4 separate regions of the Homo sapiens genome follow, and regions 2, 3 and 4 are each linked to region 1. The links are contacts of gene promoters, found by promoter capture Hi-C in blood cells and fetal thymus (Javierre and others, 2016). All regions are on one chromosome and are shown on one strand. The core of a region is centred on a gene start or on the middle of the fragment in contact, and the rest is flanking DNA. Distances in the headings are between cores, read along the strand shown. Region 1 holds the start of CORO1C (coronin 1C). Region 2 overlaps SART3 (spliceosome associated factor 3, U4/U6 recycling protein). Region 3 has its middle 4.2 kb from the start of FICD. Region 4 has its middle 11 kb from the start of SSH1.

What was found. The method cuts DNA at HindIII sites, captures the fragments that hold promoters and counts their contacts. A CHiCAGO score of 5 or more calls a contact.
Region 2: a contact is called between a fragment that was not itself captured here and the fragment with the promoter of CORO1C in region 1, in 1 of 17 cell types (neutrophils). The highest score is 5.7, in neutrophils.
Region 3: a contact is called between a fragment that was not itself captured here and the fragment with the promoter of CORO1C in region 1, in 2 of 17 cell types (fetal thymus and neutrophils). The highest score is 6.9, in fetal thymus.
Region 4: a fragment that was not itself captured here is called in contact with the fragment with the promoter of CORO1C in region 1 in 1 of 17 cell types (monocytes); the score reaches 5.7 in monocytes.

What each region holds. Positions count from the first base shown.
Region 1 is chr12:108,730,105-108,733,722 of GRCh38, forward strand. CORO1C (coronin 1C) reads right to left here and starts at 1,414. Exons shown (of 11, transcript NM_014325.4): 1 at 1,325-1,414. It overlaps LOC105369969 (a long non-coding RNA gene), which reads left to right and starts at 3,305. Exons shown (of 3, transcript XR_945328.4): 1 at 3,305-3,348. RefSeq lists silencers at 693-972, 1,163-1,672 and an enhancer at 1,285-2,088. The HindIII fragment of the contact is 3,828 bases long and covers 1-2,624 here.
Region 2 is chr12:108,543,051-108,546,290 of GRCh38, forward strand. SART3 (spliceosome associated factor 3, U4/U6 recycling protein) reads right to left here. Exons shown (of 19, transcript NM_014706.4): 4 at 2,089-2,273; 5 at 1,377-1,428; 6 at 1-102. Among named protein-coding and RNA genes, the nearest start is that of SART3, 17 kb to the right of the region's middle. The HindIII fragment of the contact is 8,616 bases long and covers 1-3,240 here.
Region 3 is chr12:108,509,283-108,512,960 of GRCh38, forward strand. No RefSeq gene overlaps it. Among named protein-coding and RNA genes, the nearest start is that of FICD, 4.2 kb to the right of the region's middle. The HindIII fragment of the contact is 3,412 bases long and covers 1-3,193 here.
Region 4 is chr12:108,866,633-108,870,247 of GRCh38, forward strand. No RefSeq gene overlaps it. Among named protein-coding and RNA genes, the nearest start is that of SSH1, 11 kb to the left of the region's middle. The HindIII fragment of the contact is 1,742 bases long and covers 420-2,161 here.

The DNA of each region.
Region 1 (3,618 bases), core at 164-2,663:
TTCAAATGTCTTATAGGAGGGAAAAGCCTTTGTATCTTACCATGCCGGGGGAAATGAACAACTTGCAATTTGCTTCGCACTCTGAATCCCACGTTTGCAACATGTAGAGCAAGCACTTTAGACACCACAAAACAAGGGCAGCCTACATTACGGCCAAATATAGGATGTGTTTCTAAATCGTGATGCAGTAAAGCCTACGATTCCTTTTCCAGCGTTCAAAATCCTTTGAACACTCCCAAAAAAGGATGCCAGGGCCAGCGCCTCCCTCCAAGAGGAAGCCCCTTTCTTCTCAGCTCTCACCGCAGCCTGCCACTTCCCCCAACACATTCAAATCATTTGAGAGACGGAGAGCTGGGGAGCGTGCGCCGGTGGGGACAGGCGGGAGAGCTCGGTTTCTGCATTCCCACCCTCCACGTCTGACCTCATCCTCAGTCATTTCGGCGCAGCGGGGCCCCACCTGCACCTCGCTCCTTTTTACTGCGTCCCTCGCCAGCTGCCCCGCTATTAGGGAAACACACCTCTGAATCACCCAGTTCACTCGGACACCCTGGGCCCCCGATCCGACAGCCTTCCTGCTTCGTTCCTCCCCTCCCAACCCCCAGCCAGTCCCAGCCCTCTGCTCCCTTGGCCGGGCTCAGCCTCTTCCCAAGCCGCCCCCACCCACATTACTCCAGCTCCAGCTCTGCCCCGCCCCGCCTGACCCCCAACCGAGATCTGCAGGGCCCAGAGCTGGTCTCGCACCCAAAGCCAGGAAACCCGCAGGCCAGGCGGCCGCCCTCGCCCCTCCCGACGCAGGGCCCAGCTCGCCCCGGCCCCACGTGAGCCCGGCCCCTACCCGCCCCCACCCACTCGTTCCCTGGGGCGGCCCAAACCCAGTCCCCAGGCCTGGAGCCCCCGGGCTCTACGCCTCGCCCGAAGCAGCCCTTCCCTCCCAGCACCTCGCCCAAGCAGGCGATCCCTGACCCCTAAAAGCCTTCCCTGGGCAGCCTCGTCCCACCTCGGCCCGCGGCTCCGCACCCGGCCAGGAGCGTTCCGGACCTCGAAAGCCTCCTCCCCACAGGGACCCTGCTTCACGCTCCCCACGCCACCTGGTTCGGTCCCCAACTCCCTTTCCCCGAGCCCCCGACAGCAGCCCCCGGCCCTAACCCCTTGCAACCCAGCCCGTGAACCCGCGCCCCGCGCGCCCACCCAGCACTGTCCCCTCCACCTAGCCCTGCCCCTCGCCCCGCCGGCTCCTGTCAGGCGGCGCAGGCACATGCTCAGAGGACAGGTCCGCCCGCCCGACTCGCTCTCAGGCTGCCCCCGCCGGGCGCGAGCCGCTCACCCGGGCCGAGGTGCCTGAGGCGCCGCCGCCGAAGTCCCCGCTGCAAAGCCGGGCGAAGCCTCCAACCGCTGCCGCCTCCAGCCTGGCACTGAGCGCCGTGCGGGGGAGGGGCGCGGGCAGCCGCCACCGCCCCCGCCACCGCGCGTAGGCCCCGCCCCCGCGCCGCGCGGGACCCAACCAGGGCTGCCGGGCCGCTGTGCGCCACGCCCACTTCCGGAGGGGAAGCCCGCTTCCCACCCCACGTTCCACGCCTCGCTACGCCCCCTCTGGTCGCACCGAGGGATGCAGGCGGTGCCCAAGCGCACGCCCCGCTCTCCAGTCATCTGAGTGGTAGAGGGCCACGCCCACAGGCGCCTCCGAGCAACGCCCACTGCTCCTTAGACCCCGGAGCGGGGTTCTTAGAGCCCCGCCCACTGACCCGCTAGGCTCTGCAAGGCCACGTCCCCTGGCTCCTCAAAGATTCCCCCAGAGCCCCTCAATACAGGAACATTAGCTCCTCTGAGCCCCGCGCACTGCCTATCCGAGTCCTTAAACCAGCCTCCTGCTTCCCTAAGCCCGGCTCCCCTCCCACTGCTTCAGAACTCGCCCAGCGGCCTCACAAAGCCCCGCCCCGTCTTCCAGAAGCCCCGCCCAAGGACCGCAACCCTATTCCTAGCATCTCAAGCCCCGCCCACTACCCCATCTCAACGTTTAAACCCCAAGCCCCGCCCCGAATTCGCGAATCCACGCCTCTGGCTCCCGAGGCTCCGCCCTGGCTCCGTCACACCCTACCACCACCTCCCTTGAGGACTGCCGACGTTCCAGCCCTCCCTGAACCGTCCATTGTCACATTCCTAGTGCAGAGTGGCCGCCCCTGGGCTGGGCCACACCCACGTAACCCCAAAGAGGGCCCGTGATTGACCCCATTTCGCAGGTGAGGGAATGGAAACTTCAGGGTTCCTCCCTTCCTTTCCCTGGCCAGAGTCCCTTAATAACTCGGCGGCCCAGGCCTGAAAGTCGGAGCACGGGAATTTGAGCCTCAGCTCTGCGGCCGTCAGACTGTGTGACCTGGGACAGTTCTCTTACCTCTTTGGGCCTGAGTCCCCTAATCTTCAGCATGAAGAAGTTGTCCTGTTAATAGCTAAAGTCCCTTTCTGAAACACCAAGCTCTGAAATACCGAGATTTGAGGAAACAGAGCCTGGGGAACCGAACCGACTGTGGGGTAGGGCTATTTACTTCCCAAAGCAAGGCATCTTTGCCATTCACAGGGGGATTTTTTATTTTAAGCGTCAGCCTCAGAAACGTGTGTTATTTAAATCAAGCTTGACCTGAACTAAGACAGCTATCACAGCAAATTATTTATCCTCTCTAAGGGTCAGTTTCTTTATCTGTAAAATGGGGATAACAGCCCCTCCCTCACAGGGTTCCATGAGATCATATTAGCAGCCATGATCGTGGCATTACTTTTTGCCATTAAAAGGAATGGCAAAAACCGCGATTACTTTTGCACCAGGATAATAGTAATATACTTAGAAGAGTTCCTGGCTTGTGATAAACGCTCGACAGTACCTGTTGCTGCTACTGCTGGGACTCAACAAAATGAAAGGATGGGTTTTATTTTGCCTTCAAGCAGCCACTCCTAATAGGAGGAATTCAGCACCCTTCCTGCAGTAAGATTTGCCACTCACTTTATTTAAATGAGATAAACGTGATGAAACGCCTACTGCAGTGCCTGCCATATGGTGAGGCTCAAAAACAATTCACTTGTTTTTGTTTGTTTGAGACACAGTCTTGCTCTGTCGCTCAGGCTGGAGTGCAGTGGGGCAGTCCACGGCTCACTGCAGCATGGACCTCCCGGGCTCAAGTAATCCTCCCACCTCAGCCTCCCACGTAGCTGAGACTACAGGCACGCGCCACCATGCCCAGCTAAATTCTTAACATTTTTCTGTAGAGATGAAGTCCTGCTATGTTGCCCAGGCTGGCCTCAAACTCCTGAGCTCAAGAGATCCTCCCACCTCGGCCTCCCAAAGTGTTGGGATTACAGGTATGAGCCACTGTGCCCACAATTCAATAGTTTTGAACAATAAAAGTTGTTTTTTTAAAATCCACTAGTTAATAAATTAAACAGGGGCATTGATAGCAGTGAGTTCTGAGTGCTTTGGGGAAAATGAAGATTGGTAAAGTGCTTTGAGTTCCTTTTTTTTTGAGACGGAGTCTTGCTCTGTCGCCCAGGCTGGAGTACAGTGGCGCGATCTCAGCTCACTGCAAGCTCCGCCTCCCAGGTTCACGCCATTCTCCTGCCTCAGCCTCCCGA
Region 2 (3,240 bases), core at 473-2,972, 190 kb before region 1:
ATTTCTCCAGCTGCTGTAGTGCTTTGTTATAGTTCTGAATTACTGACTCTGGTATTGGGTCTTCTGACCATTCTTCATACTCTGCAAATGTGGCCTCCATATCTATTGAAAGATGGATTCAGCCCCGTGGGTCTTGCCATTGGGCTTTATCAACCCAAACACAGATTAAGCCATGAGACTCAGGTGCCACTAGCCCCTCCCACATCTGTGGCATGGCAGCTCTTACTGATCAAATTCTGATTTCTGCTGAGCCCAAACCTGTCTGTAGAATCTGTCTTAAAACAATGTCCCAGGCAACCCTCCCAGCTAATTAATCAGTCAATGACACTAGTGGCAACGATTTAACAACACTTACCCAGTGTTACCTATGTTCTACCACTTCACATCCACTAACTCATTCAGTCATCCCACTCTACAAGGTAGTCTATTGTGATCCTCATTTTGCAGTTGAGGAAACTGAAGCAGAGGGTTCAGTTGCTCGTCTACAGTTAATGGTAGAGCAAGGCTGTGAACCCAAGCAGTCTGGCTCAAGTTCGCACTCTAATCATTATGCTAGGTTGTTTCACGCTGGTAGGTGAAATCTGCAAGCCGGCTCAGCTCTAGTGTTTTCTGCATGATACCCAACCATTTGATTAGACGACTACTTTATAACTTGTTAAATCCAATAAACCATGAAGAGAAATAACATGTGGGCTCCAGTAAAGTTGCCCAGAGGTTCTGAGTATGTACAACACATGCCCGTGTCTAGGGAACAAACACAACAGCCATGACAAACTCTTCCCATACTCAGAAAAATCCTCCCAGCACGCACACACTCATAGCTCCAAAGACTCAAAGGCTTAGATTGCCAAAATGTATTTACCAAATAAGGAAACTCTTTACCAAACCCCAAGAAACTCACTTATGAGTACTTCCAATCAACTGCACTTCTGAACCAAATCCCTCCCATAGAGGAATGATCTAAACTCATGTAAAATTCCTGCTGTTATGGAAGAGGTTACTTGTGAAGAGAAAATGATTATAATGGAACTCTTGTTCAATGAAGTTTCCCCAAAAAATACAGGTGTCATTCACTATTCCTTTCAGAGACCCTATCTCTGCCCTTCCAACTAGGTCTCAAAGGAGAAAAGAGCTCTCACCTGGGAGTCAGGGAGTCTGGCTTCCAGTCCTGCCTCTGACCCTCACAACCCTCTTAAGCACTAACATTCAAGATGTTTTTACCAAGGACCTCATCCAAAGAGACAATATCCAAGGAGAGTAAGAACACCAGCTTTACCTGCCTCACAGGATGGTGGGAAAGGTCTAACTACATGTTGTTCCCCAAAGCATTTTAAAAACCATAGAGGGCTGGCTGTTGACATGTCAGTTTCTCTTACCATAGAGTGGGATCGCCAACTGTCGCCGGAAAAGACTGTGGACTTTCTCAAGCTGTGAATCAAAGGTTTGTTCCCGGTCAAAAGGGGAAAGGAAGCCAGCTACGGGCTAAAGAAGCAAATTAGTAGTAAATGACAAACTGTGGTTCTTTCTTTTTCTTTTGAGAAGGGTTCTTGCTGTCACCCTGGCTGGAGTGTGGTGGTGTGATCACAACTCACTACAGCCTCACACTCCAGGCTCATGCAATCCTCCCACCTCAGAGTCCTGAGTAGCTAGGACCACAGGCATACGCCATCATGCCCAGCTAATGTTTTAGTTCTTGTAGAGATGGGGACTCACTACATTGCCCAGGCTGGTCTTGTACTCCTGAACTCAAGTGATCCTCTGGCCTCAGCCTCCCAAACTGCTGGAATTACAAGCATGAGCCACCGCACTTGGCCAACTCTGGTTCTTTCTACTTCAAAAAATATCTCAACAAATTTTCAGTTCAAGCTAAAAAAATTTATACGACCTCTTCCATACATATTGTACCAAATGCTAGAAGGGGTATAAAAAAAGGTTATCTATCACCCCACCACTAAGGGATTGGCAAAGACCATTTTGTTAACTATATGAACTGCAAGATTCATCATGGACATGTGTTTCAAAATAATCCTTCCAAGGAGACTTACAAAGACAGCCCCAACCCGTTCAGAGACAACCACAGGTACTCACCCGAGCAGCTTCCACAATCGCACTTTCAAACTCTCGGTAAGCCTCCCAGAGGGCGAGTCCTTTGGTCATATGTAAACCAACAGACGAGAGAGCCCTTTCAAACACGGAGCGAACTTTCTCAAGGCCACCTTTCTGACCAATCCCACCAACTGAGTACTGGCCATACTCTAGCCAAATGTTAGGACCTAAAAATAAGAAGTGTTCAATTAGTTTGGGATATAAAATACCCAAATATCAAAACTGATGCATAACAAACGAAATGTGCCTACCAAAAAAGTACTCAGACAGCAGCACTAAATGACAGTGAAGGCCTAACAGCAGAGATGACCATAAAGGACTAAAAAACATTACAGTCTGGGGAAGACCATAGATCCTCAGAAAAAGATAAATGGTGCTATTAACAATGCCTGTGAGAGAGTAAGAAGGGGGTAACAGGATCATCAGAAATCATGGGAACACCATGCACTGCTAAAATTATCAGTGGCTCTAAAAGAAGACTCATGGGCCACAGAGCAGAGATACAGGTATAGTTTTTAAAAACACATTTGGCCAGGTGCGGTGGCTCACGCCTGTAATCCCAGCACTTTGGGAGACTGACGTGGGAGGACCACAAGGTCAGGAGATCGAAACCAGCCTGGCCAATATGGTGAAACCCCGTCTCTACTAAAAATAGAAAAATTAGCCAGGCGTTGTGGCAGGCACCTGTAGTCCCAGCTACTCAGGAGGCTGAGGCAGGAGAATCGCTTGAACCTGGGTAGGGGGGAGGTTGCAGTGAGCCGAGATCACACCACTGCACTCCAGCCTAAGCGAAAGAGTAAGACTCTCTCTCAAAAAAAAAAAAAAAAACACACATATAATATAGTTTTATATTCATAAAACACCGCTTATTTTCATTATTCAGATTATAAACCAAAAAACTGTGAATTCTTCTTGGCTTGTAAAGATACACAAAAAATTCTCTATCATCTCAGAACAGTCTATCTGGTTAGTAGCAATGCTTCTCACAGGGGGACTGCTCCCATTGGGAAATCAACAAGGAAGAGGGTACGAAATCTGAAAGGGGAAATTGTTTGTTTGTTGAGACACAGTCTCGTTCTGTCGCCCAGGCTAGCGTGCAGAGGCATGATCACGGCTCACTGCACCCTCTACCTC
Region 3 (3,678 bases), core at 238-2,737, 220 kb before region 1:
AGAAGATGACTTTATGAAGATTTTTCCTCCTCGCTCCTTCCCCTACCCTTAAAGCATTTTTACAGTAGAAGGGGACATGTTAACGGGTAGGGAATCTAGAGACTTGGATTTGTATTCTGGCTCTGTCCTTAGTTTTTCCACCTCCAAAGCTGAGGAGCTAAAATGTAACCTGAGATCTCTGAAAGCCTAGGGTCTCATAATCGTCAAAACCACAGTTTTGAGTCAGGAAGACTGGTTGTGAACCCTGGCTCTGCCACTTGCTTGCTGTGTGACCTCAGACTAATTACTTAATTTATCTGAGCCTCATTTTCACCTTCTATAAAGTGGGTTTAATAATATCTAGTTCATGGCGTTGTTACAAAAATTCAATCAAATACCATACAAATTACTTAGCACACAGTAAGTGCTCAGTTGTCACCACTACCAAAAATGAGATAGCATGGTGGGTACGATTATTTCCACTTGTAGCTAAGATACAGTAGGATCAGAGGAGCAGTTAGAGGATTTCGTTGGTCTGGAGCAAGGCCCCATGTGGTTGTTTTTCCAAAACCCCCCCAAATGATTCTTTGAGAAACTTTGTCCTAGAGAAACTTCCACACATGTGCCAAAAAATCATACAAGTATTTCACTGCAGTCTGTGATAGGGAAAAATTGGAAACAATCCAAATGCCCATCAACAGGTAAATGGGAAATAAATTGTTAATGGAATACTATACAGCACTGTAAAATTAATGAACCAGAACTATGCATATCAGCATGAGCATAAATCTCTAAGACATAATTCTGAGCCCCAAAATGCAGAAGGATCCACACGGTATATATCATGCATAAAAATCTGCATAACATCATTATATATTATTTATGGATACATGCATGTGGATAAAAGCAAAAAGCCATGCATGGAGGCAGCAGCACCAAATTCAACATGGTAGTGACCTCTGGGAGGGAGGGAAGGGCATGTGAAGGGGAGAAGGCCCATGGGGCTTCAGTGTATTGGTGACATGGTATTTCTTAAACTGGATGGCAGGTATACAAGCGCCCATTGCACTGTTGATGTCTTTTGGATATCAGAAATATTTCATCATTTAAAAATAGATGTGGCCAGTTGTGGCGGCTCATGCTTATAATCCCAGCACTTTGGGAGGCTGAGGTGGGAGGATTTCTTGAGCCCAGGGGTTGAAGACCAGACTGGGCAACATAGTGAAACCCCATCTCTACAAAAAAAAAAAATTGTTTAAATTAGCCAGTCATGGTGGCATGCACCTGTAGTCCCAGCTACTTGGGAGGCTGAGGCAGGAGGATCACTTAAGCCCAGGAGGTTGAGGCTGTAGTGAGCTGAGATCATGCCACTGCACTCCAGCCTGGGTGACAGAGTGAGACCCTGTGTCTACAAAAAAAAAATTTTTTTAATTAGCCAGTCGTGGTGGCACACACCTATAGTCCCAGCTACTTGGGAGGCTGAGGCAGGAGGATCATTTAAGCCCAGGAGGTTGAGGCTGCAGCGAGCCGAGATCGTGCCACTGCCCTCCAGCCTGGGTGACAGAGTGAGACCCTGTCTCAAAAATAAATAAATGTGCATAGAGAAATATGGAGTAGAATTGTGAATGTGTATTTTTTTCTTGTTTTTTGTGGATTCTATATCTGTAATGATCTCATGTTGTTTTTAAGAAATAAAATAGTTGTTCAACAGGTGAAAAGCAGTTACGTTTAATTTTTTCCAAGTAAGAAGTACCACTTCCCCAAATGATTTGCTTTGAAAACAACACTCATCTGCATGTCTGAGTTTTGAAATATTGGTGATTTGAGACCATACGACATGAGAAACATCCTGAGGCCAGAACACAAGCCTTTAGCCCAGGGACACTCACATGGGGTCCCCCAAGCCCTGTTTCTTGGGGATGCCTCAGAAACTGGGTCTGACCCCACCAGGTATGTCTTTTCTTTTTTTTTTTTTTTTTTGAGACGGAGTCTCGCTCTGTTGCCCAGGCTGGAGTGCAGTGGTGCGATCTCAGCTCACTGCAAGCTCCGCCTCCCGGGTTCACGCCATTCTCCTGCCTCAGCCTCCCGAGTAGCTCGGACTACAGGCGCCCATCACCACGCCAGGCTAATTTTTTGTATTTTTAGTAGAGACGGGGTTTCACTGTGTTAGCCTGGATGATCTCGATCGCCTGACGTCGTGATCTGCCCGCCTCGGCCTCCCAAAGTGCTGGGATTACAGGTGTGAGCCACCGCGCCTGGCCCCCACCAGGTATGTTTTAAAAGGAGGATTAATCAGTAGCAGGGAGAAGGGCTGCTGGGCTCTCTTTTTCAGCCACAGCATTAAGTTAGACAGAGAAAAAAAAATCAGGGGTGGGGAAAGATGAGAGAAATGAAGAAGCAAGAACAGGTGTGGTGTATTTTCTTTTTAATGAAGTTGAGTCATTCTGCAGCCAACTCAATGCCATGTAGCCTCAAGCCGGGGAGTTTTGTTTTTCCTAAGCAATAGAATCCGACTCTGCCAGCAAGAAGCGCTTGACTGCTGTTCCTTAAACATGCAGAAGGGTTTTTTGTCTTGTTTTGTTTTGCATAATGGACATATTTCCCATGCAGCCACTTTCTGGGTTCTTTGTCATGTGTCAAGGTAAGCGTTTAGAAAACTCCTCCGTGGGCCACGGGGAGGCAATTTTCACCTAGTACAGAATGCTTAAGATGGAGAAAGCCAACTTTTCAATATCGCTTCAGGGACCATATTTTGTGCATTCAACACAGCTGAATGCAGACAAAGTCGAGAGTTAAAATTTTTTGAGTGTAAACTCCTGACAAGGAGATTGAAGGAGGGAAGTGATGTCAGGTGAATTACTGCCCCCTGGTGGCCAGACACAGTAATGGGCTCATTTTGCTGTAATAGTCCTTTGAGTCTTTTCTTCCTGCGTTCCCCTGCCATCTTCCACTACCGGCTACAAAGGGGTTACAATCTGGCGGCCCTGGAAAGCCAGCCGGCAGCCATGCCAACTGCCTTAAAATCTGGAGATACTGCTTAAAAAATCTAGGCCTCACATTTATTTTGAAAAATTGAAAACTCTATCCACTTTTAGACTGCATCCCAGCTAATAAATACGGGTTCGAGCTGAGAAGCTGCTGCCCACTTTAGACAAGGCATGTGCTCTCAAATCTGCCATACTCCCCACCTCTACCTATTGTCTCATGGCCAGGAAGCTTTGCTCATTAGCAGTTCCTGCATAGCCTCTGGATTTACTACTCGTAGCCTAAGCTAATTAAAGACTTAACAAAGAGAGGAGGGTGCCTTTAGAAGCAGAGGACTACATTGCTTTATACCTGGGTGTGGACAGGGGTCCACTAGTCCCTTAATACCCAGCTCAGTGAGGATAAGTGACTTGTTCAAGGTCACCCAGCCAGCAAGCGGTGGGCCTTGCATTTCAACGCACATCTGTCTGACCCCAGAGCTTCACTGTTTTCTAACATACTGTCACCCATAAGCTGGCTGCCTACCAGGCCCTCCTCTGGGGAAGGTTTTTACAATGACATTACTACTTGGGCCATCAGGAAGTGCAATTCAGAGGACTCCAAGAGAAAAATGTTTATGACCTTGGTTGAAAAGATTAAAAACGAGAAGCCACCAAAATAATCACCACCCTGATTTTGTTCCTTAAAAACTATGGATCTTCTGGCCAGGCGCGG
Region 4 (3,615 bases), core at 41-2,540, 140 kb after region 1:
AGAGCCAAGGGGAAAATGCTTCCTGAAGGTTGTAGTTGTGCTGCCACAAGCCAAAGAGCACCCGAGATGGTCAGCAAACCACCAGAGCTAGGAGTGAGAAGTGAGGAGCAGATTTGCGTGGCCTTCTGAAGAAACCAGCAACTCGATTTCAGAGTTCCAGGCTCCAGAACTGTGAGAGTAAATGCCTGTGGTTTAAGCCTCCCAGTTTGTGGCACTTTGTTACAGCAGCCACAGGAAAGGAACGCATCTAACATGATCATTTCATCAGCTGCAGAAAATGAGGCTCAGAGCAAGGCTAGGGTTTGAACCCAGGCCAACTAGACCCCAGACCACATACATGGGTTGTTGGCCTTTCTAGCCTGGGAGGTGACAGTTTGGATGTTCCACTATTTGCAGGGAACGGTGTTCAGAGGACTCAAAGCTTCTGCCACCTGGGCCAGGGTGTCCAGTGTTAGATATGGAAGTCAGGTATCTGGGGCTTCTGACAAAGCATCTCTCTGGGTGGGTCAATAGGCACCAGCAGCCAGGCAGTTGAGGGATCTCTGCCCCTGTGCGGAGTTGGCTGAAGCCTCCCTTCCTCTACCCATCCCTTCATTTAACCTGCTTGCCAGATCAAGGTGTTCCCTGGCCTCTGCCAGGGGTGTATTCACCTGAATTTGCCTTTTATTCACTATGATCACAAGCAACACACTGACCCTTGCTGGGCCTCAGAATCTCAACTCTTGGTGGGGTGCGGTGGCCCATGCTGGTAATCCCAGCACTGGGAGGCCAAGGTGGGTGAATCACTTGAGGCCACGAGTTAGAGACCAGCCTGGCCAACATGGCAAAAACCTGTCTCTACTAAAAATACAAAAATTAGCCAGGCATGGTGGCATGCACCTGTAGTCCCAGCTACTCAGGAGGCTGATGCACAAGAATCACTTGAATCCAGGAGATGGAGGTTGCAATGAGCCAAGATCACACCACTGCACTCCAGCCTGGGTGACGGAGTGAGACTCTGTCTCAAAAAACAAACAAAAGAATCTCAACTCTTAATATGGAATGATTAATGTCCTATAAGAAAGCATTGGTTAGATCAATTGGGTATATGCATGTGATATCCCTCCTAGATAGCTCTCAGTGGTCCTCATCTCCTGATATTCATGCCCTGTGGAGTCTCTTCACACAATACATAGAACTGACCTGTGTAACCACTAGGATATCACAGATACTACAGCATGTGGCTTCTGAGGCTAGGGGTCATAAAAGACACTGAAGCTGCTGTCTTGCTGTCTCTTGGATTTCTCATTCTGGGGGAATCCAGCTACCATGTCATGGGGACATTTAGGACATTTAAGCAGCCAAAGAGAGAGGGCCGCATGGCAAGAAACTGAGGTCTCCTGCCAATGACCAGCACTAACCTATTGTCATGTGAATGCACCACCTTGAAAATGGATCCTCCAGCCCCAGTCAGGCCTTTATTTATTTATTTACTTATTAATTGAGACCGGGTCTCATTCTGTCTCCCAGGCTGGAGTACAGTGGCACCATCTTGGCTCGCTGTAACCTCTGCCTCCTGGGTTCAAGCGATTCTCATTCTTCAGCCTCCCGAGTAGCTGGGATTACAGGCGTGCGCTACCATGCCCAGCTAGTTTTTTTGTATTTTTAGTAGAGACAGGGTTTCGCCATGTTGCCCAGGCTGGTCTCAAACTCCTGGCCTCCAGTGATCTGCCTATCTCGGACCCCCAAAGTGCTGAGATTACAGGCAAGAGCCATTGTGCCAGGCCCCCCATTCAAGCCTTCAGATGAGATCACAGCCATGGCCAACATCTGGAGTGCAACCTCATGAGACACTCTGAGCCAGAGCTGCCCAGCTGAGCTGCTTCCAGATTCCAGGCCCAAAGAAAATGTATGAGATAATAAATGTTTATTGTTTTAAGCTGCTAAATTTTAAGGTAACTTGTTATGCAGCAATAGATAACTTTTATATGCTGCCATAAAAATATTATAAAACCATGCACTAGTACAGAAAGATTTTTATAAAATATTAAGTGGAAGAAAAGAAAAGCAGGCCACCAAACAGCGTAGGACAGTAGACCCCATTTTTGAAAGAAAAATGTGAAGAGTTAAAAAACTCTACCAAAAGGGGAAAAAAAAGAGGGCATCAATGGAGAGATGGAGAAGCTTTGTTTTTGGATGGGAAGACTCAGTATGGTAGAGTTAACAACCTCTCGAAATTAAATTAAATGGAAATGCTATTGAAATCCCAACTTGATTCTTTTGAGTGTAGGGATCTTTACAACAGATAACTGGACAAGCTAACATTTATTGGGTATATATGTGCGTTGCATCACGTGACAGTCACTGTTTCATCTTAATTCCACCATAGGAGAAAGTCCCTCTTTATTTAATTTTTCTGAGAGTAAAGTACTGCTATTACCTGTTCCCCTTCCCATTTTACTTAGGAGGTTTCAAGAGGGGACTTGTCTGAGATCCTGGAAACCGTGGAGGTGAGATGACATCAAGCATGTTTGATATTTACATGTGTGCCCTTGGGCCTCCTGCCACATGGCCTCCCCACTGTGCCCTGGTTTCCCTAAGTACCAGCCCAAGGACACATGGATAGGAAAGGTGGAGCTGGGGCACCAGCCCAGTCTGCCTGACTCCAGAGTCCCTGGTCTTAATCACTAAACCACCCCAGAAAAGTAACCGTGGGAGAAGAGACCTGCAAACTAGGAAAAAGAAGATTAAAGGGAAGGAATCTGTTCTGCTAGATATTAAAACATATGACAAAGCTGTAGAAATTAAAACAGAATGGGGCCGGGTGCAGCAGCTTATGCCTGTAATCCCAGCACTTTGGGAGGCCAAGGTGAGTGGATCACCTGAGGTCAGGAGTTCTAGATCAGTGTGACCAATATGGTAAAACCCTGTCTCTACTAAAAGTATAAAAATTAGCTGGGCATAGTGGTGTGCACCTGTAGTCCCAGCTACTCTGCAGGCTGAGCCAGGAGAATTACTTGAACCTGGGAGGCAGAGGTTGCAGTGAGCCAAGCTCACACTACTACACTCCAGCCTGGGCTACAGAGCGAGACTCCAGTTCAAAAAAAAAAAAAAAGAAAGAAAAAAAAAGAAGAAGAAAAAAAAAAACCGGGCGCAGTGGCTCATGCCTGTAATCCCAGCACTTTGGGAGGCCGAGGTGGGTGGATCACCTGAGGTCAGGAATTCAAGACCAGCCTGGCCAACATGGTGAAACCCTGTCTCTACTAAAAACACAAAATCAGCAGGGTGTGGTGCTGCATGCGTATAATCCCAGCTACTTGGGAGACTGAGGCAAGAGAATCCCTTGAACCTGGAAGGCAGAGGTTGCAGTGAACCAAGACTGCGCCACTGCACTCCAGCCTGGGCAACAAGAGCAAAATTCCATCTCAAAAACAAAACAAAACAAAAACAAAAACAAAAACAAACATAGAATGGGTGCTGGCCTAGAAAGCCACAAACAGATGAATGGAGCACAACATTAAGTCCAGGAATAAACTCAAACACACAGGAAAGTCTGGTGAACGATAATAGGAGGTAGGTATCTGTGAAGCGTGGAGTAAGAGTGAGTTACTCAACCAACAGTTCTGCTGCCACTGG